Regions from separate parts of the Homo sapiens genome. Here regions 1, 2, 4, 5, 6 and 7 are each linked to region 3. The links are contacts of gene promoters, found by promoter capture Hi-C in blood cells and fetal thymus (Javierre and others, 2016). All regions are on one chromosome and are shown on one strand. Each heading gives the region's core, a stretch centred on a gene start or on the middle of the fragment in contact. The rest is flanking DNA. Distances are from core to core; before and after follow the strand shown. Region 1 overlaps TESK2 (testis associated actin remodelling kinase 2). Region 2 overlaps TESK2 (testis associated actin remodelling kinase 2). Region 3 holds the start of EIF2B3 (eukaryotic translation initiation factor 2B subunit gamma). Region 4 overlaps ARMH1 (armadillo like helical domain containing 1). Region 5 has its middle 7.8 kb from the start of HPDL. Region 6 overlaps MUTYH (mutY DNA glycosylase). Region 7 has its middle 13 kb from the start of LINC01144.

Region 1 (3,590 bases), core at 480-2,979, 380 kb before region 3:
TTTACTCTGTGGCTAGAACTAGTGTTCCCTTTTTCTTTTTGAGTCAGCTCATTACTACTGACTGTTTCAGTCAGGCAGGCCCTGGTGAACCTCCTGGAGCGGTAGGCAAATTCAGTCCTTGGCAGATATACGGATGTACGCTTGTAGTGGCTGTGGATCCTCGAGCTGAGAACAGGAGGCTTCTTTGGAGCACAAGCCTCCCACAGGGCACTCTTGGGATGTCTGTTCTGGAATTACCCAGAGCAGTAACAAAGCTTTCTTTTCTTCCTTAACCCAAGCCAGCAGGATGGGATGTCGGCTAGCCTTTGTGTTTGGAGCCTACCAACAAACATACGGTGGCCAGCACAAAAGTATTGTTGGGCTACAGTGAAAACTAGGTCGGGGCCCAAACCCTTTTCTGCAAAGAGCCCCTCCAAAGAGTAGAGTGCCAACAAGCCACTAATTTGGCTGTTTGACATTGATACTGGTTTCTGACAGGTTTCTGACTTACTGATGGCACATTGAGTCATTTAAGATTCTGAAATCTTTTTCCATTGCTGTCTGAACCTTTCAATTTGGAATCTCTGAGATGTCTTTGACTCTTTTTCCTTATTTCTCATATCTATCACTCAGTTGCTAAAAAGCTTTATATTCTGACTATAGCCAACTTTTTCTTGCCCATAAATAGCACTGTTAGTTAGATGTTTGGTCACCTCTCATCTGGCTGTTGCAGTACCCTCCAAAACTGCCTCTAATTCCTTCTCTATCCTGCTACCAGAATGATCTTTCTAAAATGCAGTTTGGGTCATGTATTAGTTTCTTAGAGCTGCCATAGCAAAGCACTACAATGTGGGTGACATAGCAGAAACTTATTATCTCAGAGTTCTGAAGGCTGGAAGTCCAAAATCAAAGTGTTGGTAGGGCCTTGTTCTCTCTGAAGGCTCTACGGGAAGATCCTTCTTGCCTTTTCCTAGCTTCTGGTAGGTTTTTGGTGTTCTTTGGCTTGTAGATGTCTCAGTCCAATTTCTGCCTCTATCTTAACATGACATTTTCCCTGTGTGCCTATATCTCTTGCCACTCTTTTTATAAGGATTCCAGTCGTATTGGATTAAGGGCCTGCCCTACTCCAATGTGACCTCATCTTAACTTGATTACATTGGCAAAGACCCTATTTCCAAATAAGGTCACATTTATAGTTACCTTACCAGGGTTTAGGACTTGCATGCATCTTTTGGGGGGATGTAATTCAACCCCCATTAGATCATATTATACCTTTACCTATAAACCTTCAGTGGCCCCTGTGGTCTGCTGAATTAACTGTAGATGCTTCATCTTGGTATTCCAGAACTTCTGCACTAATAACAAATATAATAATAATAATAGAAATAGTCATAACTGACATATTGAGCACTTTCCTTGACATTATTCTTAGCATTTTACATGTATCAACTTACTGAATCTTCACAACAACTCTGTGGGTTAGGCACTATTATTATTCCCATTTTATAGATGTGTATTAAACAAACTGAGTAACCAACTCAGGGCTCTACAACTATTATAGTCTGAGATGAGATTCAATCCTAGCCAGCCTAACTGCAGTCACCACTATATTATACTGCCCATCTTAACTTTTTAGCTTCATACTTTCTCCCCTACTTATACAGAAAAAAAAAAAAGAATAATTACTAATCTCTGTGCTTTGTTATCTTTGTGTTCCTTTTGCATAGACTGTCTTTCTTATCCCCAACCCTGCCTATGGGTTACCATGAAATGGAATTAAATCCTCAACAATGAGTGAATATTAGCCAGGCCTAGGTGGGGAAAGGGGAAGGATATTAGAGGTAAAGGGACCAGCAATGTGTACAAATGTGCAGGTGAGCAGGAGTCAGACTTTTATAAGCAGGAGTGAAAGGCTTTGTGTGCCTTTCTAAGGATTGTGGGTTTTATCCTACAAGTAATAGCACATCACTGAATAATTTTAACAGGAGAGTGGCTTCAGGTTGGCATTTCAGAAAGATTGTCTTGGCTATATTGTGGAAAATGGATTGGAATGAGGGCTAAATCTTTTCAAGATGCAAAAGGGGGCAAGAAAACAGGTTAGAAAGCTAATGGAATAACCTAAGGGAGGCGTGAGAATGATAAGTTATTGATAGTGGGTTCTACCTGTTGTAAAAAATGAAAATAAATTTTAAAAAGATACTGTTAAATGGGAGAATGAGTTGTGTACTATGAGCTAAACACCAAACTGGACTGACTTTGTATTTAGACCTTATCTCTTTAATTACTCCTTGCCTTTGAACAAACACCAAATCTTGCTGATTCTACCTCTAATGTCTCTGAGATAATAACCTCCTTTCCATTCTTGCTGCCATTGTCTTATTCAGGCCTTGGTTATCCTAACTCTTCTCCCAGCCTCAGTTCCTGACCTTTTCATACAATTTTTATACTACTGTTAGAATATTTCTATGTAGCATATCTGATCATGTTATTCTCCTGTGTGAAAAAAAAAAAGTGTTAGTTGATTGTATGGCATCCCTACTAGACCATCTAGGCTAGACTAGTCTCTGTGGGCAGAGACTGGCCCCATTTATCTTTGTGTTTCACATTGTAGGTTTTCAGTGTTTGGGTAGGTGAACAGAAGGATGGATGAATCTTTCTCAGTACCATGTTGCTAATTAGATGGTAGCAAATTATCTCTGCTAGTTAGATGACAGCACAGTTATCTTCTTTGGGTAAATGCCCTAACTCCTGGCCAGTTGGGTAGATTTTTCAAAAAGGAATAATAATTCTTAGAGTTGATATTTTCTCCAGACCTTCTCTGAATGCCTTTGAACCACTGTTCAGAGATAAGCTTATTTGGTTGCAGGTATCAGTACACTGGTAATTCAAATTTTTTTAAAACTACCATTTTGTCTTATTGTTCTGAATAGTTATAATTGGTTGAAACTACTGTAGCTGACTAGAATCAGCAAGAATTGGGAACTGGAGTCCTGGGTGCATTTACCTCAGAGAGAGGTACATATTCCCTAGAGCCAGTCCAGAATATTCTCTGTATGGATATGTTTATGTGCTTGTCTGTGCCTGAATTGGTACCTACCAGACCCTATAGGGATATGTGGGAAGAACCTATACTCTTTAGCCTAGGCAGTTGTCTTAGTCCATTTATGCTGCTATAAGAATATATCATAGACTGGGTAGCTTATAAACAACAAAAATTTATTTCTCACACTTCTGGAGGCTGGGCAATCTAAGATCTAGGCACAGGCAGATTCAGTGTTTGGTGAGGGCCTACTTCATGGTTCATAAATGCCTGTCTTTTTGTTGTGTCCTTACATAGTGGAAGGGACTAAAGAACTATGGGGACACTTGTACACACATTCTCTATCGTGGTAAAATACATATAACATATAATTTACCATCTTTTTTTTGAGTGGGGGTCTTGCTATGTTGCCCAGGCTGGTCTTGAGCTCCTGGCCTCAAGCGATCCTCCCACATCAGCTTCTCAAAGTGCTGGGATTACAGGCGAGAGCCACTGTGCCTGGCCAAGAGACAAGTTCTTACTCTCATATGGAAGTGGCAGTAGGGGGAGGAGTGCTCAATAAATGTTTGTA
Region 2 (3,706 bases), core at 36-2,535, 480 kb before region 3:
GTGTTTGGTATTGATACACAGCTAATGTACTTGTCAGTATTCCCATTCTAGAAAATAAGTGGCCAGTTTTCGGGGCTACATATTACTCATAATGAATCCTTAATTTATTCTGGATTAGGTGGGGACTTTTTATGATTATAGAAAGAAAACAATGTGATGAGGATATTGGTATATTATGTTTGCAGTCTTTTTCTACTCTTTATATCTAGGGTGTGAAAGTCCACTGAATTCTCAGAAATCTTTTTTGATGACTTTGTGGGATAATATTACCAACTTTGTGCACATATGATTCCATATTTGGATGGACATTGACAATTTTTGATTGCTGGCTGACACTGCCAAATCCAGCTACCTGTTGGTAGATAGCTTTCTAGTGCATTGCAGGATTAAATTTGTGTCTGGACTATTGTGAAGTTGTATCTACTTTGTTTTGCTGAAATGAAGGGGTGAGAAACAGCAGATACTGTGCATTAGAATGGAAAATAGAGAATGATTGGGATTTGGCATATTTTCCCTGTCAGCATGGCATCCATTCTTTAGAAAGCCTGTTTAAATCAATACTGATTTTTCTGTCTGTAGAATGTGATTGAATGACTGAAGGAAGGCTTTTGCCTCAGAGACTGGTAGAGCCATCATTTGTACACTTTTTACTCACCCTGTTGAGGGAAGTTGGGGAATAGTAGTAGCTTTCTACGTAGCTAACCCACAAATCATTTTTCACAGAAATTTGATGTATTTCTGAAGGAGACATGTTATAATGGGAAGTGCTTAGGTTTGAAACTACTAGATTTGAATCCTGAGTCTCACTAGTTGTTTATATTTGGAGAAGTCATAATCTCTCAGGATTTTGATTTCTTTTTCTTTAAATTAGAGATGATAATACATGCTTTGCAGAGTTGTCACAAAGATTACAGATAACATACAAAACCCTTGGTAGAATGCGTGGTCTGTAGTAAATAGTGGCTGCAGTTATTATTTCCAGAAGCATATTTCAGACAGGAGTGTGGTCTGAGAGTCCTAAAAATTTCCTTGATATTTCTGAAAAATGATTTTTGGAATTCTTACTTTGGAAAGATTAAAAAATATAATATTGAAGATAGGCTATTTAGTTCACTAACTTTTTTTTAATTGGTAGCTTTTCAAATTACTTTCCCCAATCAAAGCTTTTAGTTGTATTTTCTTTGTGAAAAACAAATCAACTCCTATATAAATGAAATTAATATTTGAAAAAACAAACCTACCTATGTAGAAAAGAAAAAGTTTTGAACTTCCAAGTTTATAATATTTAAGTTGAGAACATAGTTACTAAAAAATTACTTGTGTCCTTATAAGCCACATAATTTGGGCATTTTTGAAAGACTGCTAAATGCTATTTCCTAGTCTAAGAACAAAAATGATTAAGCTTCTCTAACACAGTGTTTCTCAACCAGGGCATTATTGGCATTTAGGGCAGGACAATTCTTTGTTTTGTGCATTGTAGGACATTTAGCTTCCCTAGCACCTGCCCACTAAAATACCAGTAGTGCTCATCCCACACCCCCATCATTGTGACAATAACGCCTTATGTTTTTCTGGTAATGTGATGGTAACTGTAGTTATCTCTGTTCCAAAAAAAGTATATTAATACTTTGAGGGACACTATTAGTATCAATAGATAATACTCAATATATAAGACCAAGAGAGGTAATCCAGAGGCAGAAACCATCATAAAATGTCATATATTTGAAATAATGTATTTTCTTATTTTAAAAGTAATCATTCCCACATTTTATAAAATTGGGCTTGGTTTTAGGGTTTGTACGTGTATATCTTTGCTGCCTTTTATTAGTTATTAAAATTTGTCAGAATAAATTGACAGCCATTTATAGCTTGGTTGATTTCATTTAAAATATAGTCATTTAGTTTGCTCGCCAAGGGAGCAGAAGGCATGGTTTGGAAGTTTTCTCTTGCTCAGCACTTCTCTAAAATGGATTAATACAGTTCTTACTCCCATGGAGAGGACTCTACTTCTTACCACTCATCTCAGCTATCTAATCATTAGTATTACTTTAGCATGTGATAGGGTCTCTACACTAAATATCAGTGTTTGTTATGAGCTCTCTAATTTTTTTTTTTTTTTTGAGACAGACGTTTGCTCTATTGCCCAGGCTGGAATGCAGTAGCCCAAACACGGCTCACTGCAGCTTTGACCTCCTGGGCTCCAGCAATCCTCCCACCTTGGCCTCCTGAGTAGCTAGGACTACAGGTGTGCACCACCATGCCGGGCTAATTTTTGTATTTTTTGTAGAGACGGGGATTTCACTATGTTGCCCAGGCTGATCTTGAACTCCTGGGCTCAAGCAGTCATCCTGCCTGAGCCTCTAAAATTGTTGGGGGATTACAGACGTGAGCCAGTGATCCCACCCAATATTTTAAGTTTGTGGACTTAAATAAGTTAGGCCATCCAAAAATTCACCCATGATTTTGAAGTTTTAGCCTAAGATATATATATTCCTAGGACTAAAAACTACGGTGGAAATTTAGCAGAATAAAAGTTTGAGAGTCTAGAGGCTTGGCTTGCACACTGGCATGCTGTTTATTTGCCAAATTGTTATCAATGTTTTGGCTTAAGCATGCTACATAGCTGTTGCATTAGCAATAGACTTAAAAAAAAAAAAAACTGTGAAGGCCGAGCACAGTGGCTCATGCCTGTAATCTCAGAACTTTGGGAGGCCAAGGCGGGCGGATCATGAGGTCAGGAGTTTGAGACCAGCCTGACCAACATGGTGAAACCCCATTTCTACTAAAAATACAAAAATTAGCCGGGTGTGGTGGCGCGTGCCTCTAGGGAGGCTGAGGCAGGGGAATCCCTTGAACCTGGGAGGCGGAGGTTGTGGTGAGCCATGATCGCACCACTGTACTCCAGTCTGGGTGACAGAGCGAGACTGCATCTTAAAAAAAAAACAACAAACCTGTTAAACTTTTTTGAAATTAAAAAAATTTAAATGCAGAAAAGAGTACAGTATAATAAATAACACCCAGAATTAACAAATATTAATTAATGAAAAATGATAAAATTAACAGATATATCATTTTGTGTTATTTGCCACAGGTTTGTTTTTCAATAGAAGGAAACAAAAATATTATTGGCAGTCCATCACCTTAACCACTTGGCCACTTCATCACGTTAAGGAAACAAAATTTTATTAGTATAGTGGATGTCTCTTTTGTTTCCCTTTCTTGTCATTTCACTTTCTTTCCCCTGAGGCAAATACTATTATGAATTTAGTGTCTTCATTTTTAGTTCATGCTTTTAGATGTTCACTATAAATATGTAATATCTTTAATAATTATAATAACAAACAGGAGTTGAATGCTTATTGTTTATTAGGTACTATCCATTTAATCAATAACTTTGTGGTTATTGTAAGGATTAAATGAGTTAATAAATATAAAATGTAGGCACTGTTTTTATTTTCATTTTTCAGATAGGGAACTAGAGATGTAGAGAGGTTAAATAACATATCTAAGTTCATATAACTAGAAGTTACGGAGCAAGGATTTGAACCCAGATTGTTTGGCTGTAGATGTCATAGCATTCATGACTATGCTATTCTGCTTTTCTGTAATATATAATATATAATATATATTATTATTATTATTATTTGAGATAGAGTCTTGCTCTGTTGCCCAGACTGGAGTGCAGTGGTGTGGTCATGGCTCACTG
Region 3 (3,544 bases), core at 941-3,440:
AGCAGGGTCTCGGCTTTGCAAATGCAGCCACCGACGCCAGGAGCTCTGTACGATCAGCCATGGTTAACCCCACCGTGTTCGACATCGCTGTCGACGGCAAGCCCTTGGGCCGCGTGTCCTTCGAGCCGTTTGCAGACAAGGTTCCAAAGGCAGCAGAAAACTTTCGTGCTCTGAGCAATGTAGAGAAAGGATTTGGTTATAAAGGTTCCTGCTTTCACAGAATTATTCCAGGGTTTATGTGTCAGGGTGGTGACTTCACATGCCATAATGGCACTGGTGGCAAGTACACCTGCGGGGAGAAATTTGATGACGAGAGCTTCGTCCTAAAGCATACACATCCTGGCATCTTGTCCATGGCAAATGCTGGACCCAACACAAATGGTTCCCAGTGTTTCATCTGCACTGCCAAGACTGAGTGGCTGGATGGCAATCCTGTGGTCTTTGGCAAGGTGAAAGAAGGCATGAATATTGTGGAGGCCATGGGGCACTTTGGGTCCGAGAATGGCAAGACCAGCAAGAAGATCACCATTGCTGACTGTGGACAACTCTAACAAGTTTGGCTTTTGTTTTATCTTAACCACCAGACCATTCCTTTTGTAGCTCAGAAGAGCACCCCTTCACCCCATTTGCTTGCAGTATTTTTTTTTTTTTTTTTTTTTGAGACGCTGTCTCACCCTGTCGCCCTCTCCCAGGCTGAAGTGCAGTGGCACGATCTCGGCTCACTGCAACCTCCACTTCCCGGGTTCAAGCAATTCTCTTTCCTCAGCCTCCCGAGTAGCTGGGACTACAGGCGCACGCCGCCATGCCTGGCTAATTTTTTCTTTCTTTCTTTCTTTCTTTTTTTTTTTTTTTTTGTATTTTAGTAGAGACGGGGTTTCACCATGTTGCCCAGGCTGATCTTGAACTCCTGAGCTCAGGCAATCTGCCTGCCTCGGCCTCCCAAAGTGCTAGGATTACAGACGTGAGCCACCACGCCCGGCCTGCTCGCAGTATCTTATCTTTGTGCTCTTGCTGCAGTTCCCTTTGGGTTCCATGTTTTCCTTGTTCCTTTCCATGCCTAACTGGATTGCTGAGTTAAGTTTATGATTATGAAATAAAAACTAAATTAAAAAAAAAAAACAGGGTCTCACTCTGTCGTCTAGGCAGGAGGAGTGCAGTGGCCCGATCATAGCTCACTGCAGCCTCGAACTCCTGGGCTCAAGCGATCCTCCCGTTTCAGCCTCCTGAGCAGCTGGGACTACAGGCACACACTACCATGCCCAGCTAATTTTTACTTTTGTAGAGACTGGAGGCTCTCTCGCACAGGCTGGTCTTGAACGCCCGGTTTCAAGCAATCCTCCCACCTCGGCTTCCCAAATTGCGGAGATTACAGGCATGAGCCACCATGCCCAGCCGCCCCCAGTTTTGATGGCTAAAGTTAACGTGAGTGGCCCTGTTACAAATAGGAAGTCCCGGGCCGGGCGCGGTGGCTCACGCCTGTAATCCCAGCACTTTGGGAGGCCGAGGCGGGCGGATCACGAGGTCAGGAGATCGAGACCATCCTGGCTAACACAGTGAAACCCCCGTCTCTACTAAAAATACAAAAAAATTAGCCGGGCATGGTGGCAGGCGCCTGTAGTCCCAGCTCCTCGGGAGGCTGAGGGAGGAAAATGGCGTGAACCCGGGAGGCCGAGCTTGCAGTGAGCCGAGATCGCGCCACTGCACTCCAGCCTGGGCGACGCAGAGCGAGACTCCGTCTCAAAAAAAACAAAAAACAAACAACAACAACAACAACAACAAAAACAAATAGGAAGTCCTGGCAACCCCTGCAGGGGCATTCGGTGATTTTTTTCACTAGCTAGCCAAAATTGCGGCTCCCAATGAGCTTTCTTTCACCGAATGTACTCGAAGCCAGGTCTTAGACTTACTCCCTGAGGAAAGAGGCTGAGTTGTTCCGTCTGGGTTCCCGGCACCCTGCACTGGGAGGAATACTCAAAAGGCGTTGGTAATGTGTTAATGGACAGAGGGACACACGTGTCGAATGCTCCTCGGTGGCCCCGCCCCCTCCGGCCCGCCTTCCCTCCTCTCCGCTGAGTGTGCTTCCCCTCCGTCATCCATCGCTCGGCGGTCTTCTCTTCTCCATGGGTCTGCTCTGCGCGTTCCATCGAGTTTCTCGGCCATCGCGCGCCTGCGCCATTGGGCTGTCAGTCAGAGGCGGCGTGGAGATCGCTGGGAGCGGTTGCGGCGTGCCGGGAGCTGAGTTATAGCTGTGACTTCTGCCCTGCCAGGCCGCACACAAGCTGGCTGACCCGGGTGAGCAGTGCGGTGGGGCCACTCATCTGAGGGAGGCGGGCATGTCGAACTGGGCCGAGGTGGACCCGAAGGGGTAGGAGAGGGTGCTGAGCCCCGAAGTTGTCAGCTCGACTCCCTGCTCGACCCGGTGTAGCTGTGTCCGAAGTAGAAGGGAGGTTGGGGATGAGAATCCGAGCCAACCACCTTATGCAACAGATGGAGGAACTAAGTTTCTAATCTCAGCTACTCGAGAGTCTGAGGCAGGAGAATCGTTTGAACCCAGGAGGTGGAGGTTGCAGTGAGCCTAATTCGCGCCACTGCACTCCAGCCTGGGCAACATAGTGAGACTCTCCGTTTCAAAAAAAAAAAAAAAAAGAAAAGAAAAGAAAGAAACGAAGTTTCGGGGAGGGTTCTGCTTAAAGTCACAGCGAGTGAGCGAGCACCAGACCGGTACCAGACGCCTTTAGCACTGTGCCTGCACTCTTTCAGCCTCAGCCCTTCATTCATTTGTTCAGCCTGCCTTTAGTTGTTTGGATGCAGGGCAGTGAAATATAGGGAGGAGCAGTGAGGTCTCTGCCTTCAGGCAGCACACGTGGAATGACAGACCAATTCTGATACAGTTTTCTTATCTATTTACAACTGGAAAAGGCATGAGTGCTATGATGCAGGCAAGTCTGAGATGCGGTGAACACCCTCTCCAAAGCTTGGGAGGCAGCGAGACTCGTTGCCATGATTCCCGTCAGCCATAGTCGTGGCAGTGACATGAGCATTTGACAGTCTGCCTGGTAGCATGATTAGTTATGTTCATGATTACTATTCATGCTTCCTAGGTTGCCTTTCTTCACCCAGGGCCTCCTTGAGAGCTGGAACCTCAGTTCCTAGTGACCTGGGTTCTAATGCCCTTATGCACATGTTTGAGTTTGACTCTTATACAGTTGTGAAGTTCACAGGTCCTCATTCCACTTTGATTTCTGGCATCTGACTGGGAATACAGTGATGATGCACACACAGTCCAAGAAAGTCACTCTTACACTCTTATGTAGACATTTAAGAGACATTAATGTTACACTTAAGTAGACATTTAAACACATACGTGCAATGAAACCCGTAAAGGCTAAGAGAATCTGCACATGGCAGAATGGAAGCACTTCGGGAAAAGGAGTCACTTCTGGAGGGGTGGGAACGGTTAGGAATGGCTTTGTAGGCAAGAGGATTCTTGAGCTGTCTTCAAAGTTTAATAGGTGATTACTAGACACAAGAGAAAGGCAGACTA
Region 4 (3,334 bases), core at 784-3,283, 300 kb after region 3:
ACATTATTATTATTATTTTTTGAGATGCAGTCTCACTCTGTTGCCTAGGCTGGAGTGCAGTGGTGTGATCTTGGCTCACTGCAGCCTCTGCCTCCCAGGTTCCTGCGATTCTCCTACCTCAGCCTCCTGAGTAGCTGGGATTACAGGCATGTGCCACCACACCTGGCTAATTTTTATATTTTTAGTAGAGATGGGGTTTTGCTGTGCTGGCCAGGCTTGTCTCAAACTCCTGAGCTCAAGTGATCTGCCTGCCTCAGCCTCCCAAAGTGCTGGGATTACAGGCGTGAGCCACTGTGCCCGGCAGGTTAACATGACTGATCAAGTAAATAAACTCTTCAAGTAGCAAACTACTATTACATTTTTTTCTTACAGTTTGGTTTTACCTGGAGTTAATAATTGTCATTTTTTTCCTATTGTTTGGTTTGAAGTACCAAGGGCTATTTCATTCCAAATGTCCCAAATATGTAGTGATTATTTTTCCAAATGTTCAATCTGTAACTGATTAATTCCATCTTTTCCCTGGAAACCTCTGTCCCACAGATCTCTTTCTACTATAGTTTAGACTGGTTGCTCACTAAGGCCAGTATGCAAATGTTGTCCTGGGATTTCCTCTTGCCGAGTTTTTCTGACGGATGCCCATTTCCTGTCTCTCACATCTTCTTCCTTCTTTGTGTACTCCCTTGTTTTGTCCTGGAAAGTCTAAAAATATTGTTTTTGACCACATGTTGGATTGGCTGGGTATATAACTCCGCGTTAGAAATAAGCTATCTGGGCCGGGCGCGGTGGCTCACGCCTGTAATCCTAGCACTTTGGGAGGCCGAGGCAGGCAGATCACGAGGTCAAGAGATCAAGACCATCCTGGCCAACATGGTGAAACCCCGTCTCTACTAAAAATACAAAAATTAGCTGGGCGTGGTGGCGCGTGCCTGTAGTCCCAGCTACTCAGGAGGCTGAGGCAGGAGAATCACTTGAACCCAGGATGTGGAGGTTGCAGTGAGCCGAGATTGTGCCACTGCACTCCAGCCTGGTGACAGAGTGAGACTCTGTCTCAAAAAAAAAAAAGAAAAAAAAAGAAATAAGCTATCTGGCCAGGTATGGTGGCTCATGCCTATAATCCCAGTATGTTGGGAGGCTGAGGCAGGAGGATCACTTGAGCCCAGGAGTTTGAGACCAGCCTGGGCAACACAGTGAGACCTCCATCCCCTCACCCCCAAATTAGCCAGGTATAGTGACACACACTTGTAGTTTCAGCTACTTGGGAGGCTAAGGTGGCTGAGGTGGGAAGATCGAATGAGACCAGGTCGGGGCTGCAGTGATCTATGATCCCGCCACTGCACTCCAGCCTGGGCAACACAGCAAGACCCTGTCTCGAAAAAAAAAAAAAGCTTCCCTCAGATTCACCCTCCCCAGTTGCTGTTACTGATGAGAAATCTGAAGTCATTCTGATTCCTGTGCCTTTGTCTATTTTTTTCACTCCTGATGATTTTGAAACCTTTCTGAAGTTGTATAATGATATGCTTTGGTGAAGGTCTTTTTTAATTTACTATAGTAGGCCCTTGGTGGGCTCTTTAAATCACTGTATCCTTCAGTGTTTGGATATTTATTAGGCAACTAGTCTTCTCACTGGGGAATTCATAAATGTCAGTCAGTGGAAGCTTGTTTGTTTTTTTTTAACACCCTCATAGAGATATCAGGGTCTCTGGAGAAGACTTTCCTACTTTCCCAGGGAGGGTGAGAGAGCAGGGGTGCTATTACAGACACCTCGCCATGGCATGTTGGGAGTCAGGTGGGGGAAGGGCTCACACAATGCTGTGTGTAGACCTTCCCTCTACTCATCAGTTTTCAACTCTATGTCTCATTCCTGCCCTTCAAGCCCTGCCTGAGGTCCCTGTGCAAGGAGGCCTACAGAGTCCAACTTCCTTCCTCTTCATGCAGCAAGAAAGTTTAGAGTCATTTCTTTCTTGGCGGTTGAGGGTCTGGAGTGCAGGCAAGTGCTCTGCACACAGAGGTCAGTGAATCCCCCTAGGTTGGGCTCCATACCTCATTTCTGACCTTCAGTGGTAATTTGTGCTTTCAAGCATTAAGCCTCTTAGAGGTCAAACTGGCTGAATTGACTGGTTTCTTGTTGGTAAGCTCCCCTTGTTGGCAGTTGCTTGCAATTTCCTCTGCTTCAAGCCGGTTAGCCTCCCTGCACCTGCCTTCTGCCTTCCAAATATTTGTTGAATTCTTTCATCTCCTGTTGCCTCCTTCCATGAACTTTTGTGACTGAATGCTTTTTTATATTTCTTCAGCGGGGTTATGTCACTAAGGTTTTTCAGAAGTAGGGGGAGATAAAAGACATTAAGTATATTTAATTAAGAGCCTCCAGTCATGTATTATTTATCTCAACCTTTCTTTAATAGTAAGCTTGATGAGGGTAAAAAAAGACCCATTAACTACCATTTTTAAAAATAATTAATAAGATGAAAACAGTGGAAAAAAGACCAAAATGTGTCAATTTCAAGAGTCAGTTGCTGGGATAAATTGTATCTAAGCTTGTTGACCGCTAAGGAAAAAGTGATGTTAGCTGTGTTTCCTGGTGAAGGCAGAAGGAATGAAGGCAGGGAGAAGAAACTGACATTTTTTGAGTGTTGATTAAGAGCTATCCACACACCATACGCACACACACTCACACACTCTCTCTCTCTCTCTGTGGTTGTTTTTGTTTATAGAGATGGGGTCTCTCTGTGTTGCCTAGGCTGATCTCAAACTCCTGGCCTCAAGCTATCTTCCCACCTTGGCCTCCCAAAGTGCTGGAATTACAGGTGTGAGCCACCGCACCCTGCCTAAATTCTTTGTTTTAATCCTCTTAAGATCCTCAGGAGGTCATCATTATCCACAACTTTCAGATGAAGAAACTAAGGTTTAGAAGGGTTTGCTCATTTATTGAAGGTCTCAAATAGGGATGGGAATGGGATTTGAACTTAGATCTGCATATAACTCCAAAGTCCAGGTTTTTCCCCACTAAGCCAAGGGCATGGATCCTGTTCTCCTCTGTGCTCCAAGGTGTCACCAATAATCTCCTGTTGTCAGATTTAGTGGTTTAGCTCACCGTCCCAGCGTGCTTGGTCTCTCTGATGGATTGTGAATGACTCTTTTCCTAACCCCAGAATCCCCTGGTTCTACTCCAGACTCTCTGAATCCTCAGTTGCCATTGCAGGATAGTGCCTTTGCAGGTCGTTTTCCCGTTCTTAGTTCTCTTCTCATGCTTTGTAATCCCTGGGTGACCTCATTCACCCCATCACTTCAAATTACATTTATAGGCGCACGACTCTCAAATCCGTCTCCTCAGTCT
Region 5 (3,706 bases), core at 702-3,201, 330 kb before region 3:
CGGATATATTGACTATAATAATTATTGCAACACAGGGTACTCTGGGTTTTTAAAGAAGGGTGTAGTTTAGACACTTAGAAATATCTTTGTTTTAAAAAAAAATTTTTTTTAAGTGCACTGTAAAAACATCAGATAGTCTAGCCTCAGAATAATTCTCCCGGTTTGGAAACCCAGGATTCAGTGTGGGCCCTGCCCAGAGCTCAGAGAGCTAGTTAAAAGACAGGTAGTCTGGCCAGGTGTGGTGGCTCACACCTGTAATCCCAGTACTTTGGGAGGCCGAGGCGGGTGGATCACCTGAGGTCAGGAACTCGTGACCAGCCTGACTAACATGGTGTAAACCCCATCTCTACTTAATACAAAAAAATCAGCCAGGCATGGTGGTGCATGCCTGTAATCTGAGCTACTTGGACTGAGACAGGAGAATCACTTGTACCTGGGAGGTAGAGGTTGCAATGGGGATTGATGATGCAACTGGGTAGAGGGGGAGGTTCGATTTTTATGGTGTATGAGAAAGCGCATAGTGTCTATGAATAACCTTTCACTGCTATTCATGGGGCCAGGTATAAGCAAGCAAGAGGACAGCTAGGAGGAGAGTCCGAAGAACAAGGGGAAGGTAGCCAAGGATGGAGTGAAATGCAGGGCAAATGTCTTAAAGGAAATGAGAGGTTCTAAGAGGCGAGCTCGTGGCTTGTAACCCACATGGAAGAGGTTAAAAAGGACGATAGAATGGAATGAGCCTGTGAGGCTGGAAGGAGGTATTTTCCTTGGTCTAAGAACCATTTGCCTTGAGTAGGGAGGGATTGATATGTGGAAACTTCAGTGGGAGAGTAAGTAGGAGTGACTGATGAGGAGAAAAACTGGCCATGAGGGACAGAAGTAGGAATACAGGCTGCTTCTTTAGCTGTCTTATCAGCATAATTGTTGCCTTGAGCAATGGGGTCTGAGGCCCTTTGATGGCCTTTTCAGTGAATGACTCCAGCTTCCTTTGGAAATAAAGCGGCCTTGAGAAGAGGAAATCTCTTTCAGCCCATGTAACAGCATGGTGGTGCAGTATGGAAGGCATATTTAAAGTCAGTATAAATATTAGCATGCAGTCCTTTTGCAAGAATGAGGGCTCGAGTTAAGGAAATGAGTTCGGCTTGTTGAGAGGTAGTGGAGTGGGGCAGAGCGGTAGCCTCAATGATAGATGTGGAAGATACTATAGCATAGCCTGCCTTTCCTGGTGAGTGGCAATTAGGCCTGGTGGAACTGCCATCAATAAACCAAGTGTGATCAGAGTGAGGAACAGGAAAGAAGGAAATATGGGGAAATGGAGTGAATGCCAAGTGGATTAGACAGACACAGTCACGGGGGTCAGGTGTGGTATCAGAAATAATGTGGGGGCCAGCCTAAAACAGTAAGGTCAAGTTGTTTGAACAGAAAGGCTACAGGGTGGGGTCCTGGCCCTTGTGTAAGAATTCTGACCGCACAGCCCTGCACTTCGGCTACGTGTAATGAAAAAGGGTTGGGATGAGTTAGGGAAAGCTAGTGTGGGAGCAGCTTCTAGGGCTGTTTTTAAGGAATGGAAAGAGGAGTGGGGGAAAGGATTTAGGATGGGGTCAGCTAGGTTTGCTTTTGTGAGTTTATATAATGGTTTAGTCAGGATAGCAAAACCAGGTATCCAAAGGTGAAAGTACGTAACCATGCCTAGGAAGGAAAGGAGTTTTTGCTTTGTAGAAGGGGTTGGGGTTTGGAAGATTAGCTGGACACGATCAGCAGGGAGAGCACATGTGTTTTTATGAGAATTATGCTGAGATAGGCAATGGATGAGGAAGAAATTTGGGCTTTAGAGGGGATATGCGATATCCTTTTGAGAATAGATGTTGGAGGAGCAGGAGGGTGTCCTGTTGGGAAGATTTGTAGGGGGAGCTATAAAGTAGAAGGTCATCAAAGTATTGAATAAGGTGAGAACCAGATGGATGGAAAGAAAGTAAATCATGAGAAAGGGCTTGACTGAAGTAATGGGGGCTGTCCCTGAAGCCTTGTGGCAGTACAGCCCAGGTAAGTTGCTGAGGCTGATGGGTGTCAGGGTCAGTCCAAGTGAAAGCAAAGAGAGGCTGGGATGAAGGGTGCAAAGGAATAGTAAAGAAAGCATCTTGGAGATCCAGAACAGAATAATGGGTTGTGGAGGGAGGTATTGAGGATAGGAGAGTATATGAGTTTGGCACTATAGGATGGATGGGAAGGACGATTTGATTAATAAGGTGAAGATCCTGAACCAACCTGTAAGACTTGTCCGGTTTTTGTACAGGTAGGATAGGAGAGTTGTAAGGAGAGTTTGTAGGCTTTAAAAGGCCATGCTGTAACAGGTGAGTGATAACAGGCTTTAGTCACCTCAAATCCTGTTGTGGGATGGGATACTGGCATTGAGTGGGGTAAGGGTGATTAGGTTTTAATGGGATAGTAAGGGGTGAGGCTTTGAACTGGGGAAAAGAGAGGCAATGAGATGTGGCTGTAGCCCAGGAATAGTCAGGGAAGCAGCTAATTTAGTTAAAATGTCTCGACCTAATAAGGGAGTTGGGCAGGTGGGATAACTAAAAAGAAGTGCATAAAAGAATGTTGTCCAAGTTAGCACCAGAGTTGGGGAGTTTTAAGAGTTTTAGAAGCCTGGCCATCAATACCCACAACAGTTATGGAGGCAAGGGAAACAGGCCCTTGAAAAGAAGGTAATGTGGAGTGGGTAGCCTCTGTATTGATTAAGAAGGGGACGGACTTACCCACCACTGTAAGAGTTACCCAAAGGGTCTGTGATGGTCCTGGAGGTTTCTGAGGCGCTCGGGCAGTGTCAATCTTCAGCCACTAAGCCGAGGAGATCTGGGAAGGAGTCAGCCAAGGAATGTTGGGTTTGATCTCCAGGAGCTTTAGGAGTGGCAGCGATGTGAGCTGGACAGTCTGACTTCCAGTGGGGGTTCACACAGACAGGGCACGGCTTAGGAGGAATCCCAGGTAGTGGGCATTCCAAGGCTCAGTGGCCAGATTTCCAGCACTTGAAGCAAGATCCTGGGGAAGAAAGTCCTGGAGGAACATCTGGCTGCTGTGGTTTATGCGTTTTGAAGTTCTTGTGCGCTGGAGATGTGGCTGGGGTTTCTCTCACAGCAGAGGCAAGTAATTGCAACTCAGAAATACGGTGCCTCTTGGCTGTGTCTTCTCTATTATTGTACACCTTGAAGGCAAGGTTAATTAAGTCTTGTTGTGGGTTTTGAGGGCTGTAATCTAATTTTTGGAGCTTTTTTTAAATGTTGGGAGTGGATTGGGTAATAAAATGTATATTGAGAATAAGACGGCCTTCTGGCCCCTTGGGGTCTAGGGCAGTAAAGCGTCTAAGGGTTGTTGCCAAATGGGCCATGAACTGGGCTGGGTTTTTATATTTGATGAAAAAAAGCCTAAATGCTAATTGATTTGGGAGAGGTTGGCTAAAGAAAAAGGAGCATTAACCTTGACTATACCTACAGCTCCAGCCACCTCTCTAAGAGGAAATTGTTGGGCAGGTGGGGGAGGGTTAGTCACGGATAAGCGGACTGGATGTGAGGATGGGAGGTGCTAGAAGGATTATAGAGTGGGGGAGTGGAGGCTGGGAAGAATTGGGACCTGGCTCGGCCTGGCAAAGAGCAGCCTGGGGAGGAAGGGAGAGGTCAGATGTGTTCGTAGAAAAGGAGGATTCAAAGGA
Region 6 (3,739 bases), core at 765-3,264, 350 kb before region 3:
CATCCCATTAATTCATTTAACAGGTATCTATTGTGTACAGTTTACCTGGCACTGACTTTGGACACACACCAATCAACAAGAGAATCAGTCCTTGCACTCAAGTCGTTTTTTACAGTCAAATTCAGGAAGTACACACTGATGGAAAGAATCAAAGTAATGTAAAATTACATTAGGTAAGAGCTACAAGGCAGAAATATGTGATAGGATAAGATGAGGGGACCTGATTTGGACATTTCAGTCAAGACTTGAAAAATGATAAGGTGTTAGGTAAAAGCATAAAAGAGTCCAAACAGAGGAAATGGATTGTGTGAGGCCCCAAGGTGGGCAGACACACTTGAGGTGTTTAAGCAACTAAATTCAGTCAACCTTGGCTAGAGCATAGTGAGGGGATGAGGCGGATGGTGCCCGGATCACTGGACCTGCAAGGCTGTAGTAAGAGGACTGCCTTCTAAGAGCAAGGGTGTGGCAGCCAAATCCCTCCAATGGCCTATAAGGTACTTTGTGACCCTCCTCTCCCCACCTCATCTGGTTTACTTCTCTGACCTCTTCTACCACTCAGTCCCATCTCATTCCATTCTAACCACATTGACCTACTTACTGTACCACAGACATACCAGGCACCCTCCTTGGGGCCTTTGCACTCACTTAGAATGCTTTGGGTCTACCTTGACCACAGTCTTTAAAATTGCAACATTAAACCCCACCTTGGCACTCTTTTTTTTCCCCTCTTGGTCTAATTTTTGCTTTTTATGCTAATATTTATCACCTAACATCTTATGGAATTTACTTATGTTCATTATTCCTTTTCTGTCCCCATTAGAATATAAGCTCCCTGAGGGCAGGAACTTTTGATGTTTTATTTACTGAAGTATGCCAAGTGCCTAAAACTGCTTGGCACATATTAGGGGGCTCTATAAATATTTGCTCAATCTTTTTTTTTCTTTAAGAGACAAGGTCTTGCTGAGCCCAGGGTGGAGTGCAGTGGCACAATCATAGCTCACTGCAGCCTCGACCTTCTGGGCTCAAGCTGTTCTTCACTTCAGCCTCCAGAGTAGCAGGATTACAGTGTTGAGCCACCACAACCAGCTTGCTCAAGAATTTAATGACCCATAGTAAAGGCCTACAGTATTTAAAAAAGAAAGAAAAAGGAAAAAAGGAAGGAAGGAAAGAGGGAGGGAGAAAAAAAGAGAAAAGAAAGAAAATAAAAGAATATAATGGGGTGTCACCAGGCGCCGTGGCTCATGCCTGTATCCCAGCACTTTGGGAGGCCGAGGCGGGTTGATTGCTTGAGCTCTGGAGGTGGAGACTAGCCTGGGCAACATGGTGAAACCCTGTCTCTAACAAAAATACAAAAATTAGCTGGATGTGGTGGTGGTGTGCGCCTGTGGTCCCAGCTGCTTGGAGTTGGGGTGGGGTATTGGGGTGGGAGGATTGCTTGAGCCGAGGAAGCAGAGGTTGCAGTGAGCCAAGATCACACCACTGCACTCCAGCCTGGGTGACAGAGTGAGACCCCATCCCAAAAAAAAAAAAAAGAATGGGAAACCATTGAAGGTTATAAGGAAGGAAGTGACGTGATCTGGAAAAGATTCCTTTGCTCTTTGGAGAATAGATTGTAGAATGAATGTGGAAGTAAGCAGGTTTGGTGAAGGAAGTTTGGCTATGAAGGGAAGGAGGGTGGGATTTGATTGTGTTACGAGCCAAGGGGAAAATCTTTCCCTTTGCCCTCTGAAGATCTGCTGAAAAATCAGCTCACAAAAGGCAGGTTAACTGGAGAAAAGGCATACAAATTTATTAACATGCACATTGGGAGAACCATAAAGTGATTACCCATCTCCCTACAGAGTTCGTGAGTTTATATACCATCTGGCAAAACAGATTATGGGAGGGGTGTCTCACGTGTGTCCATGTGAAGAGACCACCAAACAGGCTTTGTCTGAGCAACAAGGCTGTTTATTTCACCTGGGTGCAGACAGGCTGAGTCTGAAAAAAAGGAGTCAGCAAAGGGTGGTGGAATTATCATTAGTTCTTATAGGTTTTGGGATAGGCATTGGAGTTAAGAGCAATGTTTTGGGGGCAGGGGGTGGATCTCACAAAGTACATTCTCAAGGGTGGGGAGATTATAAAGAACCTTCTTAAGGGTGGGGGGGAGATTACCAAGTACATTGATCAGTTAGCGTGGGGCAGAAACAAATCACAGTGGTGGAATGTGATCAGTTAAGGCTATTTTCACTTCTTTTGTAGATCTTCAGTTGCTTCAGGCCATCTGGATGTATAAGTGCAGGTTACTGAGGATATGATGGCTTAGCTTGGGCTCAGAGGCCTGACAAGGGGTAGAAGAGAAATTCTGTTTTTCTGTTTTTGTAGAGACGGGGTCTTGCTATGTTGCAAGCCTAATCTCGAACTCCTGGGCTCAAGTAATCCTCCTGCCTTGGCCTCCCAAAGTGCTGGGATTACAGGCCTGAGCCAGCATGTCCAGCTCTATTTGTTTTTAAATAAACCGAACTTTGGCCAGAAGGAGATTCTGTTGAAGGGCAATAAAGGATTACTAGAGAGAATGGAATGGGGACAGAGGTTGACTTGTTAATAGTTCTCTTTGGAATTTGAGTGATCCTGAGGTACACAATACCTGTGAAAGGGTTTGTTCAGGTGTGGTTACATGTTAGTCTTATTGGGAGGGGAAGAAAAAACAAGTATTCTTTTTAGTGAGTTTGGACTTTAGGCAGATAAAGAGTTCCAGAGAACAACTTTATCCTGGCTTTGGGAGAGTCTGGGGTGGAAGGATCAGAGAGACCTTGCGGCTTCTTGAGTTCAGCATGTCAGAGGGCCATATTTTGGGGTATTGGTTTCTTTTCTTTTCTTTTTTTTTGAGACAGAGTCTTGCTCTGTCTTTGTTGCCCAGGCTGTGCAGTGGCATGATCTCAGCTCACTGCAAGCTCTGCCTCCTGGGTTCAAGCGAGCACGTCTGGCTAATTTTTTTGGATTTTTAGTAGAGATGGGGTTTCGCCATGTTGGCCAGGCTGGTCTCGAACTCCTGGCCTCAAGTGATCTGCCTGCCTTAGCCTCCCGCAGTGTTGGGATTACAGGCATGAGCCACCGTGCCTGGCCTGGGGTATTAGTTTCTGAGTTCCAACAGTTAGACGGGATTGGAGGAGCAGGACCCTGAAGAGGAGGAGGGTAAGACAGTGCAAATGGAGGTAGATTTGAAGTTGGTTTTTTTTTTTCTGAAGGAGGAGGCAAGCTCTTTTGATGAAAATGAGGTGGTAAAGTCAAAGGTTTGGGGGGAGAGTTTGATACAGAGGCTTAGCAGGGACTGCATTTTATCACAGTATAAGAATGCTGGTCGTGGATTTGAAAGAACAAGTCGCTTAATCTCCATAAACCTCAATTTCCTTATAACTAAGGTGGAGGTGATACTAGTACATACCTCATAGAGTCACCAGGAGATTGAGAGATCCGGTAAAGCTCTTCATGGGGTCTGACATAGAGTAGGCACTCACAAAATATCAACTAATTTTAGCTGTTAGAGAAAAGGCGGCCATTATAACAGTTAGGGAGCAGTGAAAATCAACCAGGCACATTTTCTCATTGTTGATGGTCAGCCACCTATGGTTTACTAGATTAGGAATAAAAATAGCTAATCTCTGTTCTCCCACTGATTTGCCATCTGTTCTCAGACAGATCTTTTGTCCCTCTGATCCTTGGTTTCTTCTAGGATAAAATGAAGGTTTTGGACTTAATG
Region 7 (3,441 bases), core at 667-3,166, 300 kb before region 3:
CCTGCTTGCCTAGTTGTCCTGGCCCCTGGCTAGCTCTCTAGAGGGGGAAAGTGGTGGAGAGATCCCTCCCAATTAACACTAGCTGGAGATGTTGGGCTGATACAGGTTCTAAAATGTGAGGATTTCAGGGAAGAGCATCTCTACAAGGGCACAGAAGATTTCTGAGTTACCTGAGTGAAAGCAAAGAGCTAATTGTGCCAGAGAGTCATTGACAATGCCTGGGGTTGGGCTAGGGTACTCGGAGAAAGAGGTCAAGAGAACTCACAAAGGTCAGGGAGAGAGAGGAGGTGAGTGGGAGTACACCACATTTCTGTCAAATCTCTGAGTAGCCCAGAGCCCTGGAAGGAAGGGCCCTGGTTGCCACAGGGTCTCTATGTCAAGAAAACCTGGGCTGTCATCCCTAGCCTGTCATTTATGAGCTGGAGGAGGGGGAAAGTCATGTCACTTCTCTGTGTTTCAGTTTTCTTACCTATAAAATTGAGCTAATGATTGACTTTGTGGGGTCGGTGGGAGGATTAAATGGGGCTATAATAGTTTGCTGGGGCTGCCTAATGGCTTGAGCTGAGACGTTGGTCTTCTCTGGCCCTTAGACTGGGACTTACACCATCAGTGCTTCTGGTTCTCAGGCCTTTGGACTAAAGCTGAAATCTATATCACTGGCTTTCCTGGGTCTCCAGCCTGCAGATAACAGATCATGGGACTTTGCAGCCTCCATAACTGTATGAGCCATTTCCTTATAATAAATCTCATTGTACTCTCTCTCTCTCTCTCTGTATATATCTGTGTATATATATATATATATATATATATATATACACACACACACACACACACACACACATACATACACACACTATGCCAGGCCATGTTTTGTTTCTTCTGATCTACAGACGATTAATTGCCTATTTAATATTGATTTTTTCCCTTCTTAGTTAGGGAAAATTTGCTGGCCACATGTCTAGAGGAAAAATTTTACATTCTAACCTGTCTTTTAGATAGGGTGGCCAATGAGCTATAAGCAGTAAGGCTTCCAGAAAAGCCCTTTAACTTTAACTTTAACTTTCATCTTCCTGCCCAGAACTATGATATGATGGCTGGAGTGCCAGTAGCCACATTTTAACCTTGAAGATAGAAGCTGCTTAAAGAATGGTGAAGCACAAAAATAGAATCCTAGGTGACTTTCTAGAGCATACCAGTCTTAGACTGCCTGCCTCTGGAATTCTCTTATGTACAAGAATAAATTTGTACAAGCCATCATAGTTAGATCTCTGTTACTACTCACCAATTACAATCCCTAATAAATAAACATGTCGCCTTTCTGCCGACTCAGCCTAGAGTTCCAGGAACTTTTTTTTTTTTTTTTAAGACAGAGTCTTGCTCTGTCATCCAGGCTGGAGTGGAGTTTGCAATCTTGGCTCACTGCAACCTCTGCCTCCTGGGTTCAAGCAATTCTCGTGCCTCAGCCTCCCGAGTAGCTGGAATTACAGGCATGCACCACCACGCCCGGCTAATTTTTGTGTTTTTAGTAGAGATGGGTTTCACTATGTTGGCCAGGCTGGTCTCAGACTCCTGACCTCAGGTAATCTGCAGGCCTTGGCCTCCCTCCCAAAGTGCTGGGATTATAGGTGTGAGCCACCATGGCCGGCCTCTAGGAATTTAAGTGGGCATTTCTATGAACATCCAATCATTCCTGAAGAAAAAAGGTGCTTATTATACCATATGGTGTAAGAACAAAGATCACTTACTTTTTTTTTTTAATGGAGTCATATATATATATATATATATGTCTATGTCTATACACACATATTTTTTGTCTGATTTCTTTTTTTTATTATTATTATACTTTAAATTTTAGGGTACATGTGCACAACGTGCAGGTTTGTTACATATGTATACATGTGCCATGTTGGTGTGCTGCACCCATTAACTCGTCATTTAGCATTAGGTTTAGCTCCTAATGCTATCCCTCCCCCCTCCCCCCATCCCACAACAGTCCCCGGTGTGTGATGTTCCCCTTCCTGTGTCCATGTGTTCTCATTGTTCAATTCCCACCTATGAGTGACAACATGCAGTTTTGGTTTTTTGTCCTTGCGATAGTTTGCTGAGAATGATGGTTTCCAGCTTCATCCATGTCCCTGCAAAGGACATGAACTCATCATTTTTTATGGCTGCATAGTATTCCATGGTGTATATGTGCCACATTTTCTTAATCCAGTCTATCATTGTTGGACATTTGGGTTGGTTCCAAGTCTTTGCTATTGTGAATAGTGCCGCAGTAAACATACGTGTGCATGTGTCTTTATAGCAGCATGATTTATAATCCTTTGGGTATATACCCAGTAATGGGATGGCTGGGTCAAATGGTATTTCTAGTTCTAGATCCCTGAGGAATCGCCACACCGACTTCCATAATGGTTGAACTAGTTTACAGTCCCACCAACAGTGTAAAAGTGTTCCTATTTCTCCACATCCTCTCCAGCACCTGTTGTTTCCTGACTTTTTAATGATCGCCATTCTAACTGGTGTGAGATGGTATCTCATTGTGGTTTTGATTTGCATTTCTCTGATGGCCAGAGATGATGAGCATTTTTTCATGTGTTTTTTGGCTGCATAAATGTCTTCTTTTGAGAAGTGTCCATTCATATCCTTTGCCCACTTTTTGATGGGGTTGTTTGTTTTTTTCTTGTAAATTTGTTTGAGTTCATTGTAGATTCTGGATATTAGCCCTTTGTCAGATGAGTAGGTTGCAAAAATTTTCTCCCATTCTGTAGGTTGCCTGTTCACTCTGCCGGTAGTTTCTTTTGCTGTGCAGAAGCTCTTTAGTTTAATTAAATCCCATTTATCAATTTTGGCTTTTGTTGCCATTGCTTTTGGTGTTTTAGACATGAAGTCCTTGCCCATGCCTATGTCCTGAATGGTAATGCCTAGGTTTTCTTCTAGGGTTTTTATGGTTTTAGGTCTAACGTTTAAGTCTTTAATCCATCTTGAATTAATTTTTGTATAAGGTGTAAGGAAGGGATCCAGTTTCAGCTTTCTACATACGGCTAGCCAGTTTTCCCAGCACCATTTATTAAATAGGGAATCCTTTCCCCATTGCTTGTTTTTTTCAGGTTTGTCAAAGATCAGATAGTTGTAGATATGCGGCATTATTTCTGAGGCCTCTGTTCTGTTCCATTGGTCTATATCTCTGTTTTGGTACCAGTACCACGCTGTTTTGGTTACTGTAGCCTTGTAGTATAGTTTGAAGTCAGGTAGCATGATGCCTCCAGCTTTGTTCTTTTGGCTTACGATTGACTTGGCAATGCGGGCTCTTTTTGGTTCCATATGAACTTTAAAGTAGTTTTTTCCAATTCTGTGAAGAAAGTCAGTGGTAGCTTGATGGGGATGGCATTGAATCTATAAATTACCTTGGGCAGTATGGCTATTTTCACGATATTGATT

The links. The method cuts DNA at HindIII sites, captures the fragments that hold promoters and counts their contacts. A CHiCAGO score of 5 or more calls a contact.
Region 1: a contact is called between a fragment that was not itself captured here and the fragment with the promoter of EIF2B3 in region 3, in 3 of 17 cell types (naive CD4 T cells, activated CD4 T cells and non-activated CD4 T cells). The highest score is 6.9, in naive CD4 T cells.
Region 2: a contact is called between a fragment that was not itself captured here and the fragment with the promoter of EIF2B3 in region 3, in 1 of 17 cell types (total CD8 T cells). The highest score is 5.9, in total CD8 T cells.
Region 4: a contact is called between a fragment that was not itself captured here and the fragment with the promoter of EIF2B3 in region 3, in 1 of 17 cell types (activated CD4 T cells). The highest score is 5.5, in activated CD4 T cells.
Region 5: a contact is called between a fragment that was not itself captured here and the fragment with the promoter of EIF2B3 in region 3, in 6 of 17 cell types (M1 macrophages, naive CD4 T cells, activated CD4 T cells and 3 more). The highest score is 7.0, in M1 macrophages.
Region 6: a fragment that was not itself captured here is called in contact with the fragment with the promoter of EIF2B3 in region 3 in 5 of 17 cell types (naive CD4 T cells, naive CD8 T cells, M1 macrophages and 2 more); the score reaches 8.5 in naive CD4 T cells.
Region 7: a contact is called between a fragment that was not itself captured here and the fragment with the promoter of EIF2B3 in region 3, in 2 of 17 cell types (naive CD8 T cells and erythroblasts). The highest score is 6.2, in naive CD8 T cells.

The regions. Positions count from the first base shown.
Region 1 is chr1:45,361,789-45,365,378 of GRCh38, reverse strand. All of the region lies in intron 4 of TESK2 (testis associated actin remodelling kinase 2), which reads left to right. Among named protein-coding and RNA genes, the nearest start is that of TOE1, 23 kb to the right of the region's middle. The HindIII fragment of the contact is 2,207 bases long and covers 626-2,832 here.
Region 2 is chr1:45,466,590-45,470,295 of GRCh38, reverse strand. The region is part of intron 1 of TESK2 (testis associated actin remodelling kinase 2); the gene reads left to right. Among named protein-coding and RNA genes, the nearest start is that of TESK2, 23 kb to the left of the region's middle. The HindIII fragment of the contact is 239 bases long and covers 1,166-1,404 here.
Region 3 is chr1:44,985,241-44,988,784 of GRCh38, reverse strand. EIF2B3 (eukaryotic translation initiation factor 2B subunit gamma) reads left to right here and starts at 2,190. Exons shown (of 12, transcript NM_020365.5): 1 at 2,190-2,292. It also overlaps the pseudogene PPIAP35. RefSeq lists enhancers at 1,847-1,896, 1,607-2,188, 2,147-2,416 and a silencer at 1,967-2,056. The HindIII fragment of the contact is 3,433 bases long and covers 1-2,976 here.
Region 4 is chr1:44,683,363-44,686,696 of GRCh38, reverse strand. The region is part of intron 1 of ARMH1 (armadillo like helical domain containing 1); the gene reads right to left. Among named protein-coding and RNA genes, the nearest start is that of ARMH1, 10 kb to the right of the region's middle. The HindIII fragment of the contact is 751 bases long and covers 1,658-2,408 here.
Region 5 is chr1:45,317,233-45,320,938 of GRCh38, reverse strand. No RefSeq gene overlaps it. Among named protein-coding and RNA genes, the nearest start is that of HPDL, 7.8 kb to the left of the region's middle. The HindIII fragment of the contact is 5,394 bases long and covers 1-3,706 here.
Region 6 is chr1:45,334,941-45,338,679 of GRCh38, reverse strand. All of the region lies in intron 1 of MUTYH (mutY DNA glycosylase), which reads left to right. Among named protein-coding and RNA genes, the nearest start is that of MUTYH, 3.2 kb to the left of the region's middle. The HindIII fragment of the contact is 5,969 bases long and covers 1-3,739 here.
Region 7 is chr1:45,289,094-45,292,534 of GRCh38, reverse strand. No RefSeq gene overlaps it. Among named protein-coding and RNA genes, the nearest start is that of LINC01144, 13 kb to the left of the region's middle. The HindIII fragment of the contact is 4,556 bases long and covers 1-3,441 here.